Regions from separate parts of the Homo sapiens genome. Here region 1 is linked to region 2. The links are contacts of gene promoters, found by promoter capture Hi-C in human tissues and cell types (Jung and others, 2019). All regions are on one chromosome and are shown on one strand. The core of a region is centred on a gene start or on the middle of the fragment in contact, and the rest is flanking DNA. Distances in the headings are between cores, read along the strand shown. Region 1 overlaps SPOCK1 (SPARC (osteonectin), cwcv and kazal like domains proteoglycan 1). Region 2 holds the start of IL9 (interleukin 9).

Region 1 (2,951 bases), core at 339-2,838, 1.3 Mb after region 2:
ACCTGGAAGGCTTGGGAAAACACAGGTTTCTGGCTCTATCATCAGAAGTACTGATTCAGCATGTCTAAGGTGGAGCTGCAAAATTTGCATGTCTAATACTGCTGGTACAGGGATCACATTTTGAGGACAACTGTGCCAAAGAAAGGAGAAAGACAAGCCAACTTCAAGAACTGAGAAAGGAATATGTGGAAACAAAAGCCTTTTGTGAGAAGCTCAGAACCAAAAGAAGTCTAGCCCTCAAGGACACTAGGTCTCCCCCCAGAGAGCACCAGAAATGGTGCGGGCAGCCTTCTTCCCACTTGGAGCACGCCTCACCAGGCTCCTGGATCTTGGACTGTTGGGCTGACCCAAGGCCACAGCTCAACAGGGACATCCAGACCCAACCTAAATCCTGAAAAGAGATGGGGTTTTTGACACAAGACTATCAGTGGGCTGCACACCATCCTGCTCAATTATCATCTCTTCCTCCTCTGTGTTAAAGCAATTCTGCAGCACAGTGATTCTTCACAGGGAGATTGATGGGCATCTTTCATGCTAATTCATTCCTGGAGTTGGGAAGCCTTTATTTTCCTCATGACATGAAGAAAACGATGGCAGACATTTCCAGTAGAAATGCCACTGCATTCTTTATAATGTCATTCAGCTGCTGCCAGAATTAAACTATTGACCAAACTAATCTGTTTAACACCCACGTTGTGGCTTGATCTCCTTGCCCCGAGGGGTGAAGCATCATGCTGCAAAGGCATCCACATTTATTCTCAGTAAGTGATGCTGGATTGCAAAGTGCCATGCATACAGGCTGGGTTTTTAATGCCATGGAAGCCCCACAGAGGCCACCTCATCCTCCACTGTGCTTTACCCACTTCAAACCATCCCCTACCTCCTTGAGGGTTAGATCCAAACCCCTCAATATGGCTGATGAGGCCCATATGACCAGACTTTCATTTTCACAGCTTCCAGTCTCCTCTGGTCTCACTCTCTACACCCTAGGGAACCCCTACCCGTAGGCTCAGGACTTGCCCATCTCTGGGCCTTTGCATAGGTTGTTCCCTCTGCGTGGAAGATGGCCCTCCCCTGCTTTCTCTAGATGTTTAATTTCTACTTGTCCTTTATCCAGTTTAAGTATAACTACCGTGTGCCCTGTAGTATCTTATACCTCACATGTTATAGTAATCATGTTGCTGATAATTATTTGTATTCAGATTATAAGCTTTGTGAGGCCAAGATCCATATCTAATAAAGTACCTAATAAAAAATGTGATGTAACAGGTGCTCAAGAAATATTTATAAATGAATGCATGGATAGCTAGCTCTGACAACTCCCTCTTTCAAAGCCTTCCTCTGTTATCCATCTGCAAAATGAGGAATTTTGACTGAGGATTTCTAACAAGGGATTTGTGACAAGGGGACAAAACAGGGGTTCCAGAGAAGCTGCAAGAAATGAAGTTCAAAGCATGCAGGGAATCAGAAGACCCTACTCCAGGACCTTTCTGTCTTTTGTGAACTACAGTACTTTTCCCTTAGCTTCAAGGCAGTGGAGAAGGATGCTTAATGGCAATACTCCTCAAAGCATGGACCCTGAAATCCTGGGGTTCCAAGAAAGTGCCTCAACATCTATTGTAGAAAGCAAGGAGTAGGCCAGTCTTAGAAACTGTACCTTAATCCATTTGAGGTACTACGTTCTAGGTGAGAGTTCATTTGCAAGAAAAGTAGACTTTGCTGCTTACAAAAAAGAAATTTGAAAGCAAGAGCAGAATTGGTCACTGACTTAGGATTTAAAGTACATCATCATCAGAGGGTCATGAAATCCTGACAATCCTCTGGCTCTGGTATGCTCGAAACAGATAAGAGTCTTTGAGCATTTGGCATCTCTTGCCCAACTCACTACCAGGCATTGAGAATTGCAAAGGAGCCTAAAAGCCTTCTACTCTGGTGAAAAGAACAAAGCTTCCTACACAGCAAGGTCTATAGAGTAAGGAAACAGGGAATAACCCAAACTCAATAACTCTCTTAGAAGAAAGGTCACAGCTTCAGATCAGACCCTGGGGCTTTGCAAACAAAGATGAGGGCAAGTTATCGTAGGAGCAAAGGGAACAGCCAACAGTGCCAATAACTCCAGATACAGACCACCAATGCAGATTTGTGCCATAAGCTTGTACCTCTTAGACCCTTCCCTCCTCTGAATCTTTCTTGTCCTATTTCTTGGGGCCTCATGTGAGGCAGATACATCTATGAAGAGGAACCACAAAACTCTGTGATCTGGACATTTCCTCATCCATATCCAATGCAGAAAAAGTATAAATACCCTTTCTTTAATAAAGCTAATCAGCCCAAATATGCAACAATGAGTAAACCAAACCTGTTTTCTTTTCTTTGCATTTTCTCCTCTTCATTTATCTGCAAACAGGAATACAGGGCTTTCTGACCAATGCCAGTTGATCTGAGCATCCCTGAATGACTTAAGCCCCAGGACTCATACATGATACATGGCTGGTACAACTGCAGAGATGGCTTCAGCCAACATGAATGACCAAGGAGGCTGTCATTGTACACAGTTTGTAAAGATGGCTCCCAGGCCACAGGGCAAGCCTTAACCATCCAAGTGAGACTTCAGACTGAACACAGAAGTGAATCACAAAACGACTTCTTTCCAGGACCCACCCAATATGAGACTTAAAAAACTAATCATCAGCCAGATGCAGCAGCTCATGCCTGTAATGCTAGCACTTTGGGAGGCTGAGGTGGGTGGATCACTTGAGGCCAGGAATTCGAGACCAGCCTGGCCAACATGGTGAAACTCCATCTCTACTAAAAATACAAAAAATTTAGCTGGGTGTGGTGGTGTGCACCTGTAGTCCCAGTTACTTGCGAGGCTGAGGCATGAGAATCACTTGAACCCAGAAGGCCAAGGTTGCAGTGAGCAGAGATTGGGCCACTGCACACTAGCCTGG
Region 2 (3,298 bases), core at 588-3,087:
ATGAAAACAAACTTACTGGACACTTGTTGTTCTTTAGTACTTCAACTGATTTTTTCACCCGACTGAAAATCAGTGGGTATCTTGTTTGCATGGTGGTATTGGTCATCTGAGACAGTCTCTCACTGAAGCATGGTCTGGTGCAGTTGTCCTGGTAAATAGTAAGGATTTATTCAAAGAAATATTCTGAGGACAGCTTTGGAAATATATCACAAAGAGCAATATAATAGAGATGATTTTTATTTAATCACCATTACTCAAACTTGCATTATTTTTAGACAGGTCCCTTGCCAATGTAGGAAGTGATCTCCCGTATTTAAAGGGGATGCCATTTTTCCACAGTGACATCCCCTGGAGGAGACTTCCTGTATGTTACATCCAGGAAACATGAGGGCTCTGGGCCCTGAAATAGTCGGCTCTGAATGTTCTTTTCAACGGGTGCTTCCCGGCTTCAAGGCTTGTAAGTCTGAAAGTGCAGAGTGAGGAAAAGCCTTTTCACACCAGCTAATGGGATGTGACAATTGAATGCAGCTGGTATTTCAGCAGCAGCTAAAAACATGGACGGTACTCCAAGGGACAGGGGCTGTGCTGTCTGCCTGGTTCCTGCCCAGAAGGCACTCTATCCTCTTCTCATCTAATGGATGGACCGCGATGGGTGCGATGTCTTACCCTAGCCAGGGCAAGAAGCTCAGATTCTTCAGATTCTCCCAGGCCTTGCATGAGAAAGAATAAAGCACTGCACCTTGGAGAAGTGCCTCCTCCTCACCCTAACCAGGAGTTTGAATTAGGAATCAGAACTTTCCTGCCACCCATCCTTCCTGCCGTAGTGGGCAGTGGCCCTCTGGAAGCCCTCCTTCCACTCACAACCTCAGATCCTCTACCTGCCCAGAGGGCAGCATTCAAACCAACAGTCACTCTAATCAGCTAGACAGACAACAGGGTGGTGGGGAGGAAGGGAGGAGGCAGGGAGGGGGAGGTATAGCGCATAGATCATTCATGACAGATGAAAGATAAGGAGTTGTCATTTTATTTACATTGTTTCACAACTCTAGAGTTATCAGTAAATGAGTTAGAAAGCAATATGATATGAGCTACAGCAATTATTATATCCTTAGTTCCAGTTTTATTTAATTGTGCACATGGCCACCTATCTAAAAAGATATTCAGGATTCTTTTTTTAATGTTGAAAAGTGTTCAAACTTCTCAAGAGGCATAAAGTTAATTAAATACAAAGAAATGTTCATAATATAGGATTTCAAGATCGTAGTTTTAAAAGGGAATAATTTGTAACAATGTGGTTTTAACAGGGAATACTAATCTGTAACAATTAAATTAAGCAACAATGTATAACATTAAATATTAAATAAAGCAACTTATTTTTACTTAAAAACAAACCAAAAAAATCCAAGGTCAACATTATGTTATTTCACTATACTTACAGAGGGAATGCCCAAACAGAGACAACTGGTCACCTGCAAGGGAAATTTCAGAGTGAAGATTCCAGATGTGAAAATTAAAATTAATTTGGAAAGTTCTTAAAGAGCATTCACTCACATTAGCACTGCAGTGGCACTTGGAAGCTGGATCTTCCTAAAGTAGATAGAGAGATAAGAACCTTTAGTCAGCCCCGAGTTTTTTCATCCTCATACATATTTCACTTTGTCAGTAGCTGTCTTTCCCATGGGCTCCCCCTGCAGCCTACCTGCATCTTGTTGATGAGGAAGTTGATGTCCAGGATCCCCGCCAAGGTTGGACACCCCTGGCCTGCCACGGAGCACAGGAGCAGGGCAGAGGTAAGGACCATGGCCAGAAGCATCTTGACAGCGGACTGGAGCTCGCTTGCAGACACCTTCAAATCGAGTGGTATTTAAAGCTCCCTCTCAAACACGGAAAAACCCTGACATCAAACTGATACCAAGAGCCCACTTTTTCTCTGTAAGTTGGGGCCACTTTATACTAACAAACAAAAAAATCAAACTGAGTCACTTGACAGAGATGATGCTGTGCCAGGAAATATCATTCCTCAGAAAAGATGATTTTCAAAAAGTTGAGTACTGAAATGCTGAAGGAAAAGTTAAAGATCTAAAAACCAAGAAAAAAAATTCAAAGACAGGGATTCTGGTTGTGAGAGTTAGAATACTTTCCATGAACGCCCAGGTCTGTATTTTCCCTTTTTACATTATGGGAAATGCTGATATAATATAGCCAGTCATGGGTGTTCTAACGAAGGGGGGCCTGGGGAGACAGAGCGGGTTGGGGGAGGGTGCATGATATTGCAGAACTTCACTTATCTCTGTTGGGGTTTTCCTTTAGTAATTGCAACCTCAGTCTTACTATGCTTTATTCCCAAATCTCAATGTTTTTCATACCCAGGATGAAGTTTGCCACCTAATGCAAATGCATCTTAGAAGTATCCCTTTGTGCAAGTGTCTGAAAGAAGAAATGTTCAACTATAAGCACAAGAATGCGGCAACCATGCTTGTTAAAATTGGCCTTGAGGACTCCTCAGTATCTTTGGAGATCTTATATAACACTGTATGACATCAAGTAAAAACCCAGCACTTGAAAGAGTATAGTAGCTAACATTTACTGAGAACTTACTACATACTAGTAACATTTCTTTTTTTTTTTTTTTTTTTTTTGAGACAGAGTCTCCCTCTGTCACCAGGCTGGAGTGCGGTGGCACAATCCAGGTTCGCTGCAACCTCTGCCTCCCGGGTTCAAGCGATTCTCCTGCCTCAGCCTCCCGAGTAGCTAGAATTACAGGCACCCTCCACCACGCCCGGCTAATTTTTTGTATTTTTAGTAGAGACGAGGTTTCACTATGTTGGCCAGGCTGGTCTTGAACTCCTGACCTCGTGATCCGCCCGCCTTGGCCTCCCAAAGTTCTGGGATTACAGGCATGAGCCACTGGGCCTGACCATACTAGCAACATTTCTAAGTACTTTACATGCATTAAGCCATGTAATACACTCGGCTGCCAAATGAGGTGGGGAGTAATTTGTCATCACCATTTTTTACCCTTTAAAACACTGTCTACATCTTAGCTTCCTGGCCCTTCAGTATGGCTGTGTTTAATCACTATGAGTCAAAAAAGCAATCTCAGTGTAACTCTATGAAGTACTATAATTATTCTTATTATCTTACAGATGGAGAAACTGAGGCATAGAGAGGCAGGTAATTTGCCCAAAACCACAAAGCCAGGAAGCCGCAGAATTTGTATTCAAGCCCAGAAGTCTGCCTCCTGATTTCAGCTCTTAATCCTCCTGAACTCCTGTTTTTCTGCAGATCTTTTATCTGC

Evidence for each region. Contacts are between HindIII fragments. The study calls those that stand out against the background at their distance.
Region 1: a fragment that was not itself captured here is called in contact with the fragment with the promoter of IL9 in region 2 in 1 of the 25 tissues and cell types used here (mesenchymal stem cells).

Annotation. Positions count from the first base shown.
Region 1 is chr5:137,225,669-137,228,619 of GRCh38, forward strand. All of the region lies in intron 3 of SPOCK1 (SPARC (osteonectin), cwcv and kazal like domains proteoglycan 1), which reads right to left. Among named protein-coding and RNA genes, the nearest start is that of SPOCK1, 270 kb to the right of the region's middle. The HindIII fragment of the contact is 3,405 bases long and covers 1-2,951 here.
Region 2 is chr5:135,894,004-135,897,301 of GRCh38, forward strand. IL9 (interleukin 9) reads right to left here and starts at 1,838. Exons shown (of 5, transcript NM_000590.2): 1 at 1,700-1,838; 2 at 1,552-1,587; 3 at 1,437-1,469; 4 at 17-148. The coding sequence starts at 1,813. It overlaps LOC124901074 (a long non-coding RNA gene), which reads left to right. Exons shown (of 3, transcript XR_007058947.1): 3 at 1,695-2,145. The HindIII fragment of the contact is 9,945 bases long and covers 1-3,298 here.